Linked DNA regions of Homo sapiens: regions 2, 3, 4, 5, 6 and 7 are each linked to region 1. Evidence: promoter capture Hi-C in 16 types of primary human blood cells and fetal thymus (Javierre and others, 2016). All regions are on one chromosome and are shown on one strand. The core of a region is centred on a gene start or on the middle of the fragment in contact, and the rest is flanking DNA. Distances in the headings are between cores, read along the strand shown.

What was found. Contacts are between HindIII fragments. The CHiCAGO score rates a contact against its expected background, and 5 or more counts as called.
Region 2: a fragment that was not itself captured here is called in contact with the fragment with the promoter of GJA8 in region 1 in 5 of 17 cell types (fetal thymus, non-activated CD4 T cells, total CD8 T cells and 2 more); the score reaches 9.6 in fetal thymus.
Region 3: a contact is called between a fragment that was not itself captured here and the fragment with the promoter of GJA8 in region 1, in 1 of 17 cell types (neutrophils). The highest score is 8.0, in neutrophils.
Region 4: a fragment that was not itself captured here is called in contact with the fragment with the promoter of GJA8 in region 1 in 1 of 17 cell types (neutrophils); the score reaches 7.0 in neutrophils.
Region 5: a fragment that was not itself captured here is called in contact with the fragment with the promoter of GJA8 in region 1 in 1 of 17 cell types (neutrophils); the score reaches 9.9 in neutrophils.
Region 6: a contact is called between a fragment that was not itself captured here and the fragment with the promoter of GJA8 in region 1, in 2 of 17 cell types (neutrophils and fetal thymus). The highest score is 8.8, in neutrophils.
Region 7: a fragment that was not itself captured here is called in contact with the fragment with the promoter of GJA8 in region 1 in 1 of 17 cell types (erythroblasts); the score reaches 6.0 in erythroblasts.

Annotation. Positions count from the first base shown.
Region 1 is chr1:147,901,531-147,904,068 of GRCh38, reverse strand. GJA8 (gap junction protein alpha 8) reads right to left here and starts at 1,274. Exons shown (of 2, transcript NM_005267.5): 1 at 1,208-1,274. The HindIII fragment of the contact is 6,753 bases long and covers 1-1,532 here.
Region 2 is chr1:148,817,599-148,820,136 of GRCh38, reverse strand. It overlaps a transcript of PDE4DIP not described here. Among named protein-coding and RNA genes, the nearest start is that of PDE4DIP, 26 kb to the left of the region's middle. The HindIII fragment of the contact is 922 bases long and covers 802-1,723 here.
Region 3 is chr1:147,150,896-147,153,433 of GRCh38, reverse strand. No RefSeq gene overlaps it. Among named protein-coding and RNA genes, the nearest start is that of PRKAB2, 20 kb to the left of the region's middle. The HindIII fragment of the contact is 7,200 bases long and covers 1-2,538 here.
Region 4 is chr1:147,199,081-147,201,618 of GRCh38, reverse strand. FMO5 (flavin containing dimethylaniline monoxygenase 5) reads left to right here. Exons shown (of 9, transcript NM_001461.4): 7 at 115-467. It also overlaps a transcript of CHD1L not described here. Among named protein-coding and RNA genes, the nearest start is that of FMO5, 25 kb to the left of the region's middle. The HindIII fragment of the contact is 8,057 bases long and covers 1-2,538 here.
Region 5 is chr1:147,221,253-147,223,790 of GRCh38, reverse strand. All of the region lies in intron 2 of FMO5 (flavin containing dimethylaniline monoxygenase 5), which reads left to right. It also overlaps a transcript of CHD1L not described here and the pseudogene RPL7AP15. Among named protein-coding and RNA genes, the nearest start is that of FMO5, 2.8 kb to the left of the region's middle. The HindIII fragment of the contact is 1,158 bases long and covers 684-1,841 here.
Region 6 is chr1:147,255,755-147,258,292 of GRCh38, reverse strand. CHD1L (chromodomain helicase DNA binding protein 1 like) reads right to left here. Exons shown (of 23, transcript NM_004284.6): 4 at 2,366-2,480; 5 at 1,731-1,762. Among named protein-coding and RNA genes, the nearest start is that of CHD1L, 14 kb to the right of the region's middle. The HindIII fragment of the contact is 5,587 bases long and covers 1-2,538 here.
Region 7 is chr1:147,333,930-147,336,467 of GRCh38, reverse strand. No RefSeq gene overlaps it. Among named protein-coding and RNA genes, the nearest start is that of CHD1L, 93 kb to the right of the region's middle. RefSeq lists an enhancer at 1-265. The HindIII fragment of the contact is 890 bases long and covers 832-1,721 here.

The DNA.
Region 1 (2,538 bases), core at 25-2,524:
TCCCAGCTACTTGGGAGGCTGGGGCAGGAGAATTGCTTGAGCCCAGGAGGTGGAGGCTGCAGTGAGCTGAGATCACACCACTGCACTCCAGCCTGGGCAACACAGCGAGACTCTGTCTCAAAAAAAAAAAAAAAGAGTTATTAAATTACTAACTACAACTACAGTCTATTTTCATCATCATTTCATAAAAGGGGATTTTAACACCACAAAACTGGAGAGGACATAACTTCAGAATAAAAGACAAGCCTTTAAATTGAACACACTTAACTTGGTGAAACATTTACTACATTGTTAACTTTATCATTGTCACATTTTGGTCACAGGTTGTGGAAACCTTCATCTTGAGCTAGAACTGACAGATCCCCAGATGGATGTCTGAGAACCAGTGAACTTGGCATTATCAATCCCCATTACCAGACAAAAAGACAGGCTGGGAGGTGAAATGAGTCTCCAAGATGGGGGCTTAGCTAGTGAGGGCAGAGCTAGGCTGTGAGCCCTGGTCTTCTAGATCTAAGCCCATTACAGCATAGCCCTCCTCTGGTTTTGAAGAGGCAGAATAACACATATACATCCATTAATAAGTTATCCAAAGCGTTCAATGGCCACTTACCACTCTGGTTGGTAACCAGGTGGAAAGTGCCTCTTTTCTAGTTTCTAGAACAGCCACTAGCCAGCAGTTCTCATAGATAGACAACAGAACCTGCTCCTAGGAGGAATTTTATGGTCCTTAGCCAGATCCCTTCCTGTGCTCCATTAAATGCTCCAACATGGAAAATGCTGAGCACGAAGCCTCCGCTACCCCCACAGCATTCAGTAATTATGACTATTATTTCTATTGTAGAATTTGAGTGAAAAGGGCACAAAACTTTTTCATAAATATCAAATACTTGGTTTAGGTCCCTGTGGATTCCTGTAGACATGAAAAGAGCTTAAGAAGTCAAATTGTAGTTTGAGTTTGGACATCTCTGTTTCCCCATCCTGCTGATTATTCCAGCATTCCTCTCCCTTCCAAACCTCTGCCAGTTCTTAGGTCAACTTGAAGAGGGTTTTCAGAGTTGGAGTGTAAGTCTAGCCATCCCAGCCCAAGACTGAATCTTATTGGCAACCTTTTTCCTTTTGGAGAAGCCTATATATGGCCCTTAGATTAGGCTGAGAAAGAACAATTGGGGGGAAGGTTACAAACTAATATCACCCAAGGAAAACTTGCCAATACAAGGAGTGTCCCACGGAGAAATATGTGCTCTTTCTCTCTTGGCGCTCAGCAGCAAAATGGCAACTTTCGTCTCTTTCCTTTGCTGCCTAAAAGCCCACCTCCCACTTCTCTACCCCGCCCCTACTGTGCTGCACGACTGAGCAGATATGACTGGATTGGCCCTGATGGGTAGGTTTTACTGTCCAGCAATATTTTAAGCTCCCAGCCAGACAGCTTTTATGAAGGGAGGGATGTTTGGGAAACAATGGGAGTGAGAGAATGGGAGAGCTGTGTTGGGCACTGAGGGGAGGAGGATGGGGAAAGCTGATGTGTGAAAGCTTAGCTGGGGCTTCTGTGCCTCCCAAAGTTTCTTTTAGCAGCAGACTGGGCCTGTACATCAGTAAACCTTTGGCGTCTCTCCAGAGCGCATGAGCCTAGGGGCATTTTCCCAAGGCCTTATCATCAGCTGGGAGAATCTTAATGATGTAGGGACAGTAAGTGGTCAGTTGTGTGAATCCCTCTGCCCTGAGTCACACCAAGAGTGGTTGGTCCTTTCCAAAGGACCATATTTCATTTTTTATTGGTGGTTTGCTCTTGTCTCTCAAAGCCTTCAGCAGAATTGTGGATATTAGAGGCTGGGAAGTGTAGTGGCGGAAGGAAGGATGGGGAGCATGTTGCTAATAGATACAAAAGCACAGCTAGATAGGGGGAATGGGTTCTGGTGGTCTGCAGTGCTGTAGGGTGAATATGGTTAACATTAATTAATTAATTATTTTAATTTTTATATTTTTGTGTGTGTGTGAGACAGAGTCTCGCTCTGCCACCCAGGCTGGAGTGCAATGTCACGATCTTAGCTCACTGCAACCTCTGCCTCTCAGGTTCAAGTTATTCTCCTGCCTCAGCCTCCTGAGTAGCTGGGATAACAGACACCCACAACCACGCCCAGCTAATTTTTTTTTTTCTATTTTTAGTAGAGACGGGGTTTCACCATGTTGGCCAGGCTGGCCTCAGACTCCTGACCTCAGGCGATCTGCCCGCCTTGGCCTCCCCAAATGCTGGGATTACAAGCATGAGCGACCATGCCTGGCCGTTAACTATTTTATTGTATAGTCTCAAAAAGCTAGAGGAGAGGATTTTGATTGTTCCCAACAGAAAGAAATGATAAATGTTTGAGATGCTGAATATGCTAATTATCCTGATTTGATCATTACACATTGTATACATGTATTGAAATATCACTGTGTATCACAAATACGTACAATTATTATGTGTCAACTAAACATAAAAGGAAAGAGCTTTCTAAAAAGATCAAAACAATAAAAAAGAAACACAAACAAACCTTCAGC
Region 2 (2,538 bases), core at 13-2,512, 920 kb before region 1:
GTTAACACGGTGAAACCCCATCTCTACTAAAAAATACAAAAAATTAGCCGGGTGTGGTGGCGGGCGCCTGTAGTCTCAGCTATTCGGGAGGCTGAGGCAGGAGAGTGGCGTGAACCCAGGAGGCGGAGCTTGCAGTGAGCCAGATCGCGCCGCTGCACGCCAGCCTGGGAAACAGAGCAGGACTCCGCCTCAAAAAAAAAAAAAAAAAAAAAAAAAAAAAGATATAAACAGATTTCAATATTAAGTTAAATAAAAGAAGAAAGATAAATCTGTTCAAACTTACACAGCATACTAAAAAGATATGCTTTTAAATGTCTTCTCTGTCCTATGATTCAGAATAAACTAGAGGTCAGGAGACAGTTCCATGAGATATCCTTTTGGATATCCCAAACTAAATTAATTCTCTCCTTTCCCTGACATCTGCTTCTCATACCATATTATCTATCTCAGTTAATGAAATTACTATTTACTCTCTGACTGGCCTAGGAATTTGTTTAGACAGAGTTTACTTGTCTAGAGTAATAAACTGGAGAATAACATTTGTTTCCACCATCTCCCTCATTTCCCACACTCAATTAATCAAAAAATCCTATCAGTTCTAACTCAAATTCTCCAACCTATCTCTTCCTCGCCATTCCCAATACCAATGCCTGTGTTCAGGCCCTTATTACCTTTGGCCGTGAACCACTTGCAACAGTTTCTCAGTGATCTTCACTCAATCCACTTAAGCCCATCTCTCACACGATTGCCACACTTACAACTCTAAAACAAAGATCTATGTCTGCCAGACTCTTCTTTAAAAGCTTCTATAATTCCACACTGTCTACAAAAATAAAAGCCAACCGCCTCTGTGTCTTAGCTGAAATGACAGAATACAAAAGTTTCTCAGAATGATTTATAAATGCAACCTTTTCTTTAATATGGAGGTTCTTTAACCCTGGTATACATGAGAAAACTTGTAGTGCATTTAAAGAACACTGATGCTAAGACCTCAATCTGAAAAAGTCTGATTTAATTGGTCTGGAATGAAGCCTTACATCAGCTTTTTAAAGACCTCCCCCAAATAATTCTAATATGTAGTCAGGGTTGAAAACTACTAATTTATAACGTGGCTAGAAAGACACTTCTACTTCCAGACAGCATGCGGTAATAGGGTTGGTATTCATTCCCCTTCACCCCTGACAGAAATTACTAAAAAATAGGACAAGATATATAAAATAATTATTTTCAGACACTGGATGTCAGACAACATAGGAAAGTTATCCAAGAGAAGAGAGAAACAAGCAAAGTAAGCCATACAACTGTCCTACTTAACTGCCCCAGAGCTCACAGAGAGGGAATCCAGGCAGAGCCTGGTGATCTGCCTGAGTTGAAGAGATCATGCAGAGATTTGAGAAGGCCAAGGCAGGTAGAGTTCATGGGGAAGAGTACCAGAAAGAATAGAAAATTCCAGAGATCTGTGGAGAGTCTCCTTGAATATTCAGCTGAATACTGATCGGTATATCAGGAAACTACCAAGGTTGGGGTAAGAACCACACAAGAGAATCAGATTAAACAATCCTCTTGGCTCATACAAGGCTGGAAGTAGTTTGTTTCATCATCTACTAAAGTGGGAAAAGCCTCATAATTAACAGGATATTGGCTAGAGTACTTAGAAGGGTATCACCCAAGTAATGGGGAAAATTAATCATCTTTAAAAAGTTGCTTGGGTTCCCCATAATGAAGCTTAAGATCAAGAAGGATCTGTTTCCAACTAACTGTGACCCAGAATAAAGCTCAATAATGTTTATGGGAATGCAAAACTATCTAACACCCAATATGTAAAATGTTTAATGTGTGGTATCAAATCAAAGTATTGCCAGGTGTGCAAAGAAGCAGGAAACAGTACTTAAAATGAAGAGAAAAATCAATTACCAGAAACATACTCAGAACTGAACAAATGTTAGAATTGTTATTATAGTATTTTAAATGTTCAAGAAAGTAGAACAAAGATTGATAAAATGAAGTAAAATATTAATACATGGGCGGGGCACAGTGCCTCACGCCTGTAATCCCAGCACTTTGGGAGGAGGCGGGCAGATCACCTGAGGTCAGAAGTTTGAGACCACCCTGGCCAACATGGTGAAACCCCATCTCTAATAAAAATACAAAAATTAGCCAGGCGTGGTGGTGGGTGCCTGTAATCCCAGCTACTCAGGAGGCTGAGACAGGAGAATTGCTTGTACCCGGGAGGCAGAGATTGCAGGTTGCAAGGAGCTGAGACCGTAACATTGACAAGAGTGAAACTCCATCTCAAAAAAAAAGAAAAAAAATTAATACATGAAAGTTACAAACTTCTAGAGATGAAAAAGACAATATCTGAGATGAAGAATACACTGGATGGAATTAACAACAGATTAGACACTGTAGAAGAAAAAGTTAGTGAACTTAAAGACATAGCAATGAAAATGATCCAAAAATAAAACAAGAGAAAGAAGACAAAAAGTGAACAGAGCATCAGTGATCAATGGGAAAAATTTAAATGACCTAATATATATG
Region 3 (2,538 bases), core at 27-2,526, 750 kb after region 1:
TATTGATTACAATAGTTGTGGATCACTTACAAGTTAGATATAGCGATTGGGTAGTGGAATGGGTGTTGGATGCAACAGGATCTTGGAAAATATTTCTGGGGGTTAGAGGATAGGCTGAGAATATTATAGATGTTTGGAAACATTTGTGCCAACCTGAAGATGGTGTTTCTTTGTCTCTCCCAATTAGCACAGCTGTGTTCTGTTGGTCATCTGGTAGAGTGATCAATCTAGAGTTAGAATACCTAGGGATGACATAAAGGAATATGACAGTCCGGAAATCTACCAGATGAAGAGCCAGTCTGAGCTCAGAGGGGATTTTGAGCCAAGGCATGGCATTTTATTTTTAGATGGAGCTGAACATTGTGATAGTAACCAGCACTAGATGAACTAAAGTTCAGGAGGAAAAGCGGAACTATCCAAGGTGAACTGAGATTACTAGCCATTTTATCCCCTGGGCCCATTTGCTTACTCTGCACGTGGAGTTAGGACTGACCTTTGCCCAGACACAGGGTGTTTGATGGGGTCAAATGACATTAAATACCAAGCACTGGATCCCTAAAATATGGGAAACAAATGAGGTGAGCCCTTTAGTTGCCCAGGTTACATGCTGAAGGGAAACTAAGATTGCAGATGGAATCAAGTTTGCTAATCAGCTGACCTTGAGATGCAAATATTACCCTGGATTATTTAGTTAGGCCCAATCTAATAAGTGCAAGAGGGAAGTCAGAGTGATAGGACATGAAAAGAACTTGACTTGCTGTTGCTGGCTTTTGAAGATGAGAAAAGAGAACTATAAACCCAGGAATGTGGTAGCCTTAGGAGCAAGGAAATGGATTCTCTCTCAGAGCCTCCAGGAAGAAACACAATGGCTTTATTTTAGTTCAGTAGTCTTTTTTTTTTAATTTTATTATCATCATACTTTAAGTCTTAGGGTACATGTGCACAACGTGCAGGTTTGTTACATATGTATACATGTGCCATGTTGGTGTGCTGCACCCATTAACTCGTCATTTAGCATTAGGTATATCTCCTAATGCTATCCCTCCCCCCTCCCCCCACCCCACAACAGTCCCCAGAGTGTGATGTTCCCCTTCCTGTGTCCATGTGTTCTCATTGTTCAATTCCCACCTATGAGTGAGAACATGTGGTATTTGGTTTTTTGTTGTTGCGTTACTGACCCATTTGGATGTGGAAATACAGAAGTGTAAGACAATAAATTTGTGTTGTTTTAAGTCACTAAGTTTGTTGAAATTTGTCAACAGCAGTGATAGGAAATGAATACAACATGTCTATGGTCTGATCTAATATCTTAAATCAAGAGCCATAGGATCAAGTTGTTTCCAAGTAACTTACCTGCATCCTAGAACAAAGCTCAAGAATATTTATAGGAAAACAAAAATGTTCAGCACCAAACAAGAAAAAGTTTATCATATCCGACATCGGAAAAAAACTGAGGCACTCAAAAAAATAGAAAAATCAAACCATTATGAGAAAAAAAAAAATCCATCAATTGAAATTGACTCAGAACTGTTACATGAGGGTAGAAATAGCAGACAGTTGAAACAATAATAAGTTTATAAGTTCAAAAGCTGGAGAAAAAAGCAAACATGTTTATATATATATATAAATATGTAAGTGTGTTTTATCACGTCTGAAAGACCCAAATTGAACTTTATAGATTAAAACTACAAATCATGAGAAGAAAAGTAAACTGGATAGGCTGAACATTAGATTAGACATTGCAAAGAAAGATTATACTTGAAAGACGTAAGAATAGAAACTACACAAAATAAAACTGAAAAAGGGCTTAAAAATGAACAACACATCAGTGAATTGTGGAAAAACTTCAAGTGGCATAATAATTGGTACTATGTGTGTCCCCTCCAAAATTCATGGTGAAACTTAATCTCCATTGTGGTGGTATTAATTGGGGCCTTTTAGGAAGAGATTAGGTCTTGAGGGGTCCTCCCATGTGAATGGGATTAAGGCATTTATAAAAGAGGCTTCACACAGAGTTTTGGCCTTTTTTGCCCTCTGCCTTCTACCATGTAAGAACACAGCAACAAGCAACCATCTTGAAAGTGAAGAGCCACTCTCACTAGACACCAGTGCCGGTGCCTTGATCTAGGGCTTCCCAGCCTCCAGAACTGCACAAAATAAATTTCTATTATTTCAAAATTGCATAGGCTGTGATATTTTGTTATAGAAGCAGAAATGGACCAAGACAACTGGAATACCCAAAAGAGGTACGAGAGGAATAGGACAAATATTAGTAGAAATAGTGACCCAAATTTCCCGAAATTTGATGGAACCTATAAAGCCACAGATCTAAGTAGCTCAATTAACCCCAAGCACAAGAAATAAGAAAATAAAACAACTAAATGAAGGCAAATCATAATAAAATCTCTCAAAACCCGTTAGAAAAATTGTAAAAGCAGCCAGAGGAGAAACAACTAGTTATGTACAAAGGAAGAAAGATAAGGGTGATAGCAGATTTATCATCAAAACAATTATAAGCTAGAACACAGTGGAGCAACA
Region 4 (2,538 bases), core at 11-2,510, 700 kb after region 1:
CCAAGGGGAAGATTATTGGCATCCTGTTTACCTCCACCAAAGCAAAATTTTACTTATGTGGTACTGATTTCTCTTTCTCTCATTTCTCCACTTGATCTTTGTCACGACTCACAGAGCTCTGAGTCAGCATCCAACCTTAAATGATGACCTGCCAAATCGTATCATTTCTGGCTTGGTGAAAGTGAAAGGAAATGTGAAGGAATTCACGGAGACAGCTGCCATATTTGAGGATGGCTCCAGGGAGGATGACATTGATGCTGTTATCTTTGCCACAGGCTATAGCTTTGACTTTCCATTTCTGGAAGATTCCGTCAAAGTGGTCAAAAACAAGATATCCCTGTATAAAAAGGTCTTCCCTCCTAACCTGGAAAGGCCAACTCTTGCAATCATAGGCTTGATTCAGCCCTTAGGAGCCATTATGCCCATTTCAGAGCTCCAAGGACGCTGGGCCACTCAGGTATTTAAAGGTAAGTGACCATGCAAATAGACTACTTAATTACTTGGTGATATGTTTACCTCTGTTTAGGTACTTGTTTTTAAATAGCTAGAGATAGCATGTATGATTACAACAGTGCCTAGCACAAAGTTAGTACAGAAAAATATATTTTTGAGTGAATCTAAAGTAGCAATTTATAACCATGGACATACATCATACCTGGGAAATTTTTCCAAGCTATGCATGCTTTGACACCATCCTTGCTGATGCTTATTTAGTTAGTCTGGGGTGGGGCAGTCATAACATCTTTGAGAAAAATATTCCCCAGTAATTCCAATGTGTACTCCAAATTAGAATTTACTCATCTAGATTTTAGGCAACTGGCATATATTTCTGAAGTAAAATAGTTTTATCTTCTTTCATTATAGATAAAAATAAAATATAGAAATAGTATGACTTTATTTCGGCCGAAAATTAAGACCTGGTTGCAGACTAGTCAATATTGTAGGATATTCAATCCCCCAAATTCTCACTTTTCTCCTTTTATGTCCCCTCTTTCAGTTTTGGCTAGGAATATATGAAAAAAAAAGGGGAATAGGTTTCATATGAGTCAGTAGAATGATATAGCTTCCAAAGAAATAATTAAATCTAGCATCATTAAAAAACTATAATGTTCTAGAACATTACAACTGTTGTTCTCTAAACTGGCCAGACCACACCTAATGATACATTTTAAAAGTGAAGCTGGAGTGCGTTTAATAAGGAGAGAGAGAAAAATTTTTTAAGGGATTTGAAAACATGCCATCTGAAGTACAACTGAAAAAGCCGGAGAGAGATTTAGCCTGGAGAAGATAAACTTCAGGAGAGATATGAGAATTTCCTTCAAATATCTGAAGGGAAGGCACATGGAAGAAGGATTAGATTTACTCAGTATAGCTTCAAAGGGTCAAACCAGAATCAAGGAGTGAAATCTTGAGGGTTACACATCAGCTTACCATTAAGAAAAAAATCCAAAACCTTTTTCCTATCAGCCAATGCCATTTCATGATGGAACCAGCTGCCTCTGAAATTCTAAGCAGAAAAGGAAAAGGATGCCAAATGACTGAATGCTCACTGGGCCGGGGCAGGAGAGGGGGAAGGTATGGAGTAGATTCAAGCCTCAGGATAGAGAGAAACAAGATGATGTTTAAGGGTCCTTCTAAAGAAGAAATTCACTGATTCTATGGTTGTTATAACAAAATTTGCTATTGTTACTAGCATTTAATTAAAACTACTCAGAGTTCCTGTTGGAATTACACCTTTTTTGTTTTCACTAGTGAAAATCTTCACAGTTGCAGAGAAAAAAAGAACCAATGGTATTACAGTTGATAGTTCAACAACCTTTCTAAATTTCCCCAAATTTCTATTACTTCCAGTCCTATCCAGCAGATTATGTACTACCTGAGAGAACTATACAAGTAGTCAAACGCAAATAGCCCATTAAGTTGGCCTAATTCTAGTCATATTAAAGTGATCTTTTAATTGGGTCAATTACATAAGCGGAGAACAGTTCATTAAAACAGGCCACAGCATCTTAGTATACTTTAAGCAACTGGGACTCTTTTCCAAGACCAAGTGAATTCTTGAGAGGAAATAGAGAAAATGAGTATTTGCAAGAGTCTGCATTATGGTTATGAGATTATGGGATCTTAGGGAAAATGTACAAAAAGCCCAGCTTCCTATGCTAGCAGAAGCCTAGTGCTAATTCCTCCAGCTTTTTTCTAACACCTGGAAGGAAGAAATCTTCAGAATTCTCTAACTTTACCAGACTTCCAACAGGAACTCTGGGTTTTTTATTCTGTCCATGGCCAATCTGTCTGCCTCCCACATTCTTGCCTTTCTCTTCCCTGAATTATCCCTTCACTATGCCAATTTTAAACCCTTTGGATTAGCTTGTTTTTCCCATTTTTTTCATGTCTGCCCAACAAAGCCTGCCTCCTTCCTTGTCTGTTCCCTACCAAGCCCCATTTTCCTTCTTCTTCTGTTCTCTGGAATTATTGTTCTCTTGTCAAGAAAATATTCTACTCTTTTCTAGAACACTGAATTTACTTCCTTGCCTTGAC
Region 5 (2,538 bases), core at 13-2,512, 680 kb after region 1:
GGCAGGAAGTGCTTTCAGCAGCTTATAAAAGGATAGCTCTTTGCTGCTGCAACCTGATATAGGGGGGCCATCTGACAAAGAGGGTGAGGTCTCTTTGGGGCTGTATGTCCTGTCCAATGCCAAAATTCTTAGGCTTTTTCTCAAACAGAGGATTCACAACTTTTTTGTCTTCCTGCTTCTTCACTGATAGCAGGGGCGGGGGCCGCCTTCTTTCCCTTAGCCTTCTTTCCTATTGGCATCTTGGGTGGCTAGAGGAGAACGGGTTTGCTTTTAAGCTAGTTTTCTGAACATTTAATAGTATTGAGGTGCCCTAGATAAGTTTTACGTTTCATATTTCATAAAAACTAACACATTGTTGGCCAGCTACATAAAAGTGGCTTTATAGCATTTCTTAGTTGAACCGAAATACAATCCTTTTGCACCCTGACTCTGTTTTGGGGACTAATTTTATGTGACAATCATCCTTATTCAGATCTGGAGTGGATCCCCTTAGCTGACCTGCATACGTGTATCATCATCAGTCTTGGACATGGGCTAAAAGCCTGTTGTTTTTAGTAAACAGCAGAAAATTCTGCTCTTAAAATCCAGCCACAATATGGTATGGAGGTTAAGAATGCAGTCTTAGGCTCAAACCTTATTTCTGTCACCTACTAGCAGTGTGACTTTGGGCACATCATTAAGCTTCTCTGTACCTGTGTTTCTTCATCTTTAAGAAGTGGATAATAATAGTATCCACTTTATAGAGTTATTGTCAGGAGTAAGTGAATGGATAATTATGCCAATCACTTACAACAGTGCCAGGAACATAGTGTTACATGTTGGTTATTATTCAGTAGGCCTAGGATGGGACTCACACATGTGGTGTCTTTACTAAGCATCTTAGCCAGTTTTGGCAGTTACTGAAAAGGCATGAAATCAATTGAGGATGGGAGGAGGTTGGGAGGGCATCCATCATCTTGTCTGATTATCAAGTTTCTGGTTTTTATCTCCAATGTGGTTTAAACTTATTCTCTGCTAAAGACTTAACGTGGAGGTTTTTCTTCTGATTATCCACTTGGCAAAATTTTAACACTTTGTAAACTGCTTCCTTGAAAATAAATAAGCTGTGTTTCATCATAACGCTCTGACTTCTGTTCCAACAGACCACACCTGTGTGGTTCACCGTTATATTTCTAGAGCCAAGCATGTATTCTACTATCTCCATTTTTTAAAGCTCCCCAGATGATTCCAATGTGCAGACAACAGTTCAAAGAGAGTTTCTATTCCATGGGATTTTGAAAATCTGACAGGAACAGAAGCCCCAAACTGTCCTCATTCCTCCCATTTAAATTTTTCTCCTTTCTTCTGTCCTTATTACTTCTTCCAATCCCATCAGTTCCAATTTCCCCAACTTCCATCCCCTGCTCTCTCTCTCTTTTCTTTTTAGGCAGAGTCTCACTCTGTTACCCAGGCTGGAGTATAGTGGCGTGATCTCAGCTCACTGCAACCTCTGCCTCCTGGGTTCAAGTGATTCTCATGCCTTAGCCTCTCAAGTAGCTGAAATTATACACGCACTACTACGCCTTGCTAATTCTTGTATTTTTAGTAAAGATGGGGTTTCACCATGTTGGCCAGGCTATTCTCGAACTCCTCACCTCAAGTGATCTGCTCACCTCGGCCTCCCAAGGTGTGGGGATTACAGGCATGAGCCACCGTGCCTAGCCTCTCTTTTCTTACACAGACTTCCTGCTCAAATGTGTGAGCCTTGTGCCTAGGTAGGAAATATAATCAGTGTATAGAGTTTGTAGAGAGAAGATTTATTCATCAATGGTAGAAAATTGTAAAATGCAGGAGCAGAAGCTTCTTTTTCTTCTACTCACTAACCCAATACTGCTCTGTGCTCACTCTTTTGGAAAGCAGTGGATTGGCACAGTGGTAAACCTTACCTAAGTTCCAATCAGGTGTTTCGAAGGATTTGAAGGATGTTGTTGACACAGGATAACACTTGTTGTGGTTAGTGATTTGAAAAAGAGTTGAAATATAGGAGTACCTCAAAGAGGTGAGATCTGTCATTCATTTCACTCAGTGATCCCAACAGACCTGCTGTGGATAGGATGGCTCTACTCTTTGTAAACGTTGAACTTTTGGAATACACATACAGACTTGCATTTATCAGTACCTCATAAAGTATTTTATTACAGAGGGACTTTCTAAATATCTCTTGAATGAATAAATGAAATGAAATTCAGAAGTTAGGAACATGCCTCACCTGCTCTCCATACAGCAAACATCTTAATTCCAAAATGACCTTGCCATTCATTAATTTACCTTAATTAAAAAATATATACACTTATGTACAAACATGTTTAAATAAGCTTTTAATTTTAGAACAGTTTTAGACTTACAAAATTTATTAGGAAGATAATACAGAGAATTACAGTACACCTCATGTCCAGTTACCCCATTTTACATTAGTATGATACGTTTTTAAATAATGAATGAACCAATATTGATACATTATTATTAACTGAAGTCCATACTTTATTCAGATTTACTCAG
Region 6 (2,538 bases), core at 22-2,521, 650 kb after region 1:
ATACTCTAAATGATGTCCCCTGAAGAGGAAAAGATGGGGGAAATCCAGCACTGAATGGAAAGTTGGATGAGGTAACTTCTAATCCTCTTGATCCAAAGAGTTTTACAAGTCTATTGTCCAAAACATTTCAAATTTTTCATATTTGTAACATGCACAGCCTTAACTCTCCATAATAAATCTCTTTAGGGCAGAGATGATATTACACTTCCCTGCTATTCTCAGAATGTACAATACAGCAATAAGCAATATAACCTTCCAAATATATTGAAAGAATGTATCTATGTTGTTGGGATTCATACTACAGGACAGCATTATAAATGTCCCTCTGTTACTTAGGTTTTTAAATCTACCTGAAAATGCACTGAAAACCGATTATCTGAAATAGAAAGATTCTATTTCTGCTGAATAATGTAAAACTCCAGTACAACTAGCTATTTTGAGAAGTTCTCTTAAAAAGAGGCTCCACAGCACCAAATGCTGGGTTTAAATGTCTGCTCTGCTATTTATCATCAGCAATGTAACCTTGGATGGGTTACCAAATCTCTTATTTTCCTCACCCGTAAAATGAATAATAGCTGCCTCGTGGGGTTTTCATGAAAATTAAATGGGATAATTTATGTAAAGTACCCAGCAACATTTATGTCCCAATTTTATTATCTTTTGAGACTTCCCATATATTGCTATGTATTATGGATATCTGTACACTTCTCATCCCTCCACTGGAGTTTGTCTTCTTAGGGAAGCTCTATGATTTACTTTCCTGATATTGCCAATAACTCTCAGAACAATGTCTTTCCAGTGACTGACTTTCAACAAATATTAAGTTGAATATTAATAATAAAAAGAGAGGGAATGTATATCTTAAGAAAAATAAGATAATATGCTCACTTAAATGAAATACTAGATAGAAGTCATGAAATCTATGACCTAGCCTCTAGTATTTCAAAATAACATGAAAATAGAAATCCAGCTCACAGGAACCTGGATAAGAAATAACATTTAAAATATTGATAAAATACTTTGAAAACAAAGATTTTTGAATATTAAAATACAGAATATCCACCTAACCATGTAATAACTACAGAGGTTATAGAGAATGAAACCCTGTCAACATATCTTTCTTACCTAAACTCTAGCCCTTATTTAATCTGCATTGTAACTGTTATCTTGACATGATCCTATCATTCCCATTATTAGGTGGTATTGCTGAGTTTCTGATTTCATGGGCCAATATGAGGTTAACTAATTAGAGGTACACTTAAAACTCCCTTTCTAAAAAGTTAATTCCACGGCACTGATTGCTATTTTAGGTTATGTCCAGCAAACAGCTCAAATGGTTCTCCTTCTGTATTACAGCAAACTCTCCAAATGGTAGTACTGAAAGGGGTCTATGCAAGTTGCATGTAAAGAGCCTAATATCTATTAACCATACAAAGTATATTTAATCTCATTTAATTTTCGTAACAGCTATTTGAGGTAAGAAACAATTATCCTCATTTTACAGATGAAGAAGCTGAAGTTCATGGAGATTAAATAACTAACCCAAGGACACACAGCTAATGAGTAGAGGACTGTAAACACAGGACTCCCACCATGCCGCCTACCCATAAACAGAACTCATGGAAGACATACCAGACATGCCAGGAGAGGCAAAGTACTAAAACGTGAAGGAAAGACATGACATTCATAATACATTCAACCCAAGTTCTTAAATAGTACAACCTACTCACGATTTTAGAAATGATGCATCTTTCAAGCAAATCTGAAAAATTAGGAAGACACGTTATAAAGGCTGGCATTGATAAACTCTGATATTGATAAGCTAGTTTTCTGTGAACTCTCTTAAACTATAGGATTTATCTAAGTCTCATTTGTTCACTAAGTAAAAAAAAGTTCTGAGAATAATTTCTAAGTAGCGCCATCTTAAAAACAAAGAGAAAAGCCTGATTAAGTGGAAGGTCAGTGGCACACACTGTCTTAGACTGAAAAACAAGGATTTAAAATAAGGCCGGAGCTGTCTTCCATTCCTATCCTCCAGTAACAGACGTGATTCCTCAGTCCACAAAACCCTTTCCCCTGCCTGCCTGCCTGACTTCTGTTCATCAACCAAGAGGCAGCTCAAGTGCCACTTCCTTGAGAAGCCTTCCCCCTTGATCCACCAAGAAAGGAAAAGATCGAACTAATCTGAAGCACAATGATCCTTCACTTCTTTTGGTTACAGCCCTCTTTTGAGAATCTGATGAAGGTAGACTCCCTGCCCAGAAAAGTGTGTGCTCTCAACAAAACTTAAATATAATTTCAGCAGACTCTACAACTTCTAAGGTCACAGGTTAGGAGTTCTCGCTATAGAGAAACGAATGAATACCTCATAGGTAGTCAGTAGCACATGAAAACGTGACTCCTGTTTCAGGTCTTGCTGAAGGCAGGCTCTTTCCTCCTTGTCGCCTGCATATGTTACACAGGAAAGACCTGGAGCAAATCTGAATCCAAGAAAAGAAGTAGATAAACATAAATACTAGATCCATGTGACAGGATGTG
Region 7 (2,538 bases), core at 27-2,526, 570 kb after region 1:
TTACCAAAGCATTTGAATCAGTTCACCATAAGGCAGTAAGCTCTCCTTTAAAAGGCTCATCCTTCACAGTTCTTGGCTGTTTGAATTTTCTCTTTCCTTCGTCACCCTTAAACTTAATTACACAGCAGCTGAAAAAGAAGACCTCTCTTGACCAAAATTTAAGGATAAAAATGTGGGATTATACAACAAATAACTATAATAAAATGTGGTCACTCTAAAATCCACACAAGAATAAAGAACACAGGAAAAAGGGGAAACACAGGAAAAAGGGCAATTTATTTTGTCCTAGGGACTTGGAAGAGGAAGAGTTGGTTAAAGCTTCATAAAAGAGAAAATGTTTCAGCTGTAATTTGTCTTCCTCCTCTATTCCTAAATGATAAATTATATTCTTTTTGGGAAATTAAAAAAATACATTTTTTAATTACAAGAAAAATATATATTTACAGAAATTACAAAAGCACCATAAGAGTTTGGATTCCAGTCCTCCACTCTTCACGGGTGAGCAACCATGAAGCTTCTGAGGACACTCTGTAATCTTGAGTACAGGGGTTTTGGAAACCAAGTGATGAAGACAGCATTTGTTATAATCAGGCCTTTAAAAACAAAACACTGTAAAGAACACTAAATGGGAATGGGAAAGTGGGAAGAGAGGGAAACTGTCCAGCTAATTCATTTGTAACTCTTGCCAGCCTCAGTCCAGACTTGCCAGAGGATCTTTGCTAGGTTATGGATTTTAGGTGTTTTCATTAAGGACTATCTGGAATAGAGCCTCATTCCTCCTCTACCCCAGAAGGCAACAGTCACTGATTCACACTTCATATCCCTTAAGCTTGCATGACTTAATTTCTTTCTTCCCATTAAGTTAGAATTAAAAAAAAACTCTTATTAGTTTCCTCCAAGGGTTTTGGAAAGATAAAGGAAACTGTCAAGTCTTAAGAGTGTCATAAACCTTGGGGACACACATGGCACTCAAATACTAGAGATGATGTCTAATGATACCATTTTCAAAAATGTCTTTCATTATTTTGCCATGTCCTGAAATCCCATAAAAGCATAACAGAAATGAGTTTGGGATTTTACTAAATTAAAATTTGTAAAGAAGGAGGAAAAGGATGATAATGATAATGTCGTTGATTTTCATTATTGTTCATTGCAAATTCCACGAAAAAGTAAAATATTAGTCAAGATGCAAAATTAGATGACCCTGTAGTCAAGAAGGCAAGGTAAGGTGCTTAAAATTTAACGAGACTGATGAAAGCAGAAAGAACATCAATCAAAATCTCAAGTTGTACATTGGCAGCACTTTCTGTGCTATCTCCCAAGTTTTTCTAGGGCTCCACCTATTACACTTGGAATCACCGACATTGCTGAAAGCATTTTAAAGGCATTAATTATCTAACTTACTGTCTTAATTACCTATGCTCATCTCAGGAGAATTGCAAAGGGATAGGCATCAGGAACACTTCTTTGGTGAGAGAAAACCAAGTGACAAAAGAGAAGCGTTTGTCCTAACACATCTAAAAGGCAGGTTGGAAATAACAGGTAGACTCAAGTTTGGTTCAGCCCAAATTAAAAAAAAATGCCATTCTCCTCATGCATTGACACCAAAATATTCACCTTCACCTACAAAATGATATTTTTTTCTGGCATGATTTTTTTCCCTTCGTTCAGCCTCAGAGATAATACTAATGATTACCAGTGATGGTAGTGAAAGCCAAGCTTAATCACCATAATTGACAATTAAGTTGGGTAACAACACAGAGACAGGTGATTTCACACAAGGCTAATGAAAATGGGCTATTAAAATCCACACACGTTTGGCAGCAATTATGAGCTCCTGGAGCCATTTGCTTTGAAATGTGCACATTTCACAGGTGGCTGCCTGCCAACAAGACAACTTTGAGCAGGACCGAGAAAGCAAGAGGAAAAGACAGAGTTGCCGGAGATTTTCTTAAGTGCCATTGCTTTTCAGTGGCTTGCTGAATCCTTATCACTACAGGCCAGATATTTTAAAGCCAAAGAAATATGCAAAGTTCACAGCTGCAGAGAATGACAGACATCCCATTTTCCTATAGAACCACGATGGAATTGGCAGAGGACAAGGGAGTGGGCACTAGCGAATACAGAAGGGCAAAGTAGAGAGGATTCCATGAAATAAGTGCTGGACCATGTAAGAGAGGCCTGGAGCCTGGATGTCTTGTCTGGAGTACACAGAAGATACTTAACAGTTTTCACAAAATGTGAAATGGAAGTAATAATCCCTGCTTCCCAAATATGATAGTATGGTTAAATGAGTTCAGTTCCTTGAAGGGCACTTGAATTCAGAGGCTGAGGTTACTTTGCTGCAGTTTCATGCATCTCCTAGCTCCCTGCTCTTACTCTCTTATATCAGGATGCCACCATTCTGCTCAAAGCCCCTCTCCTTTAAGCTCTTTACTGTCTGAATATGCCAGTTAGTAGGGAAGTTAGTCAACTTTTTTTAATGACAGGAAACCAAATAACAAACAGTGGTGAGAACTTGCCTGAAAATAGACTGGG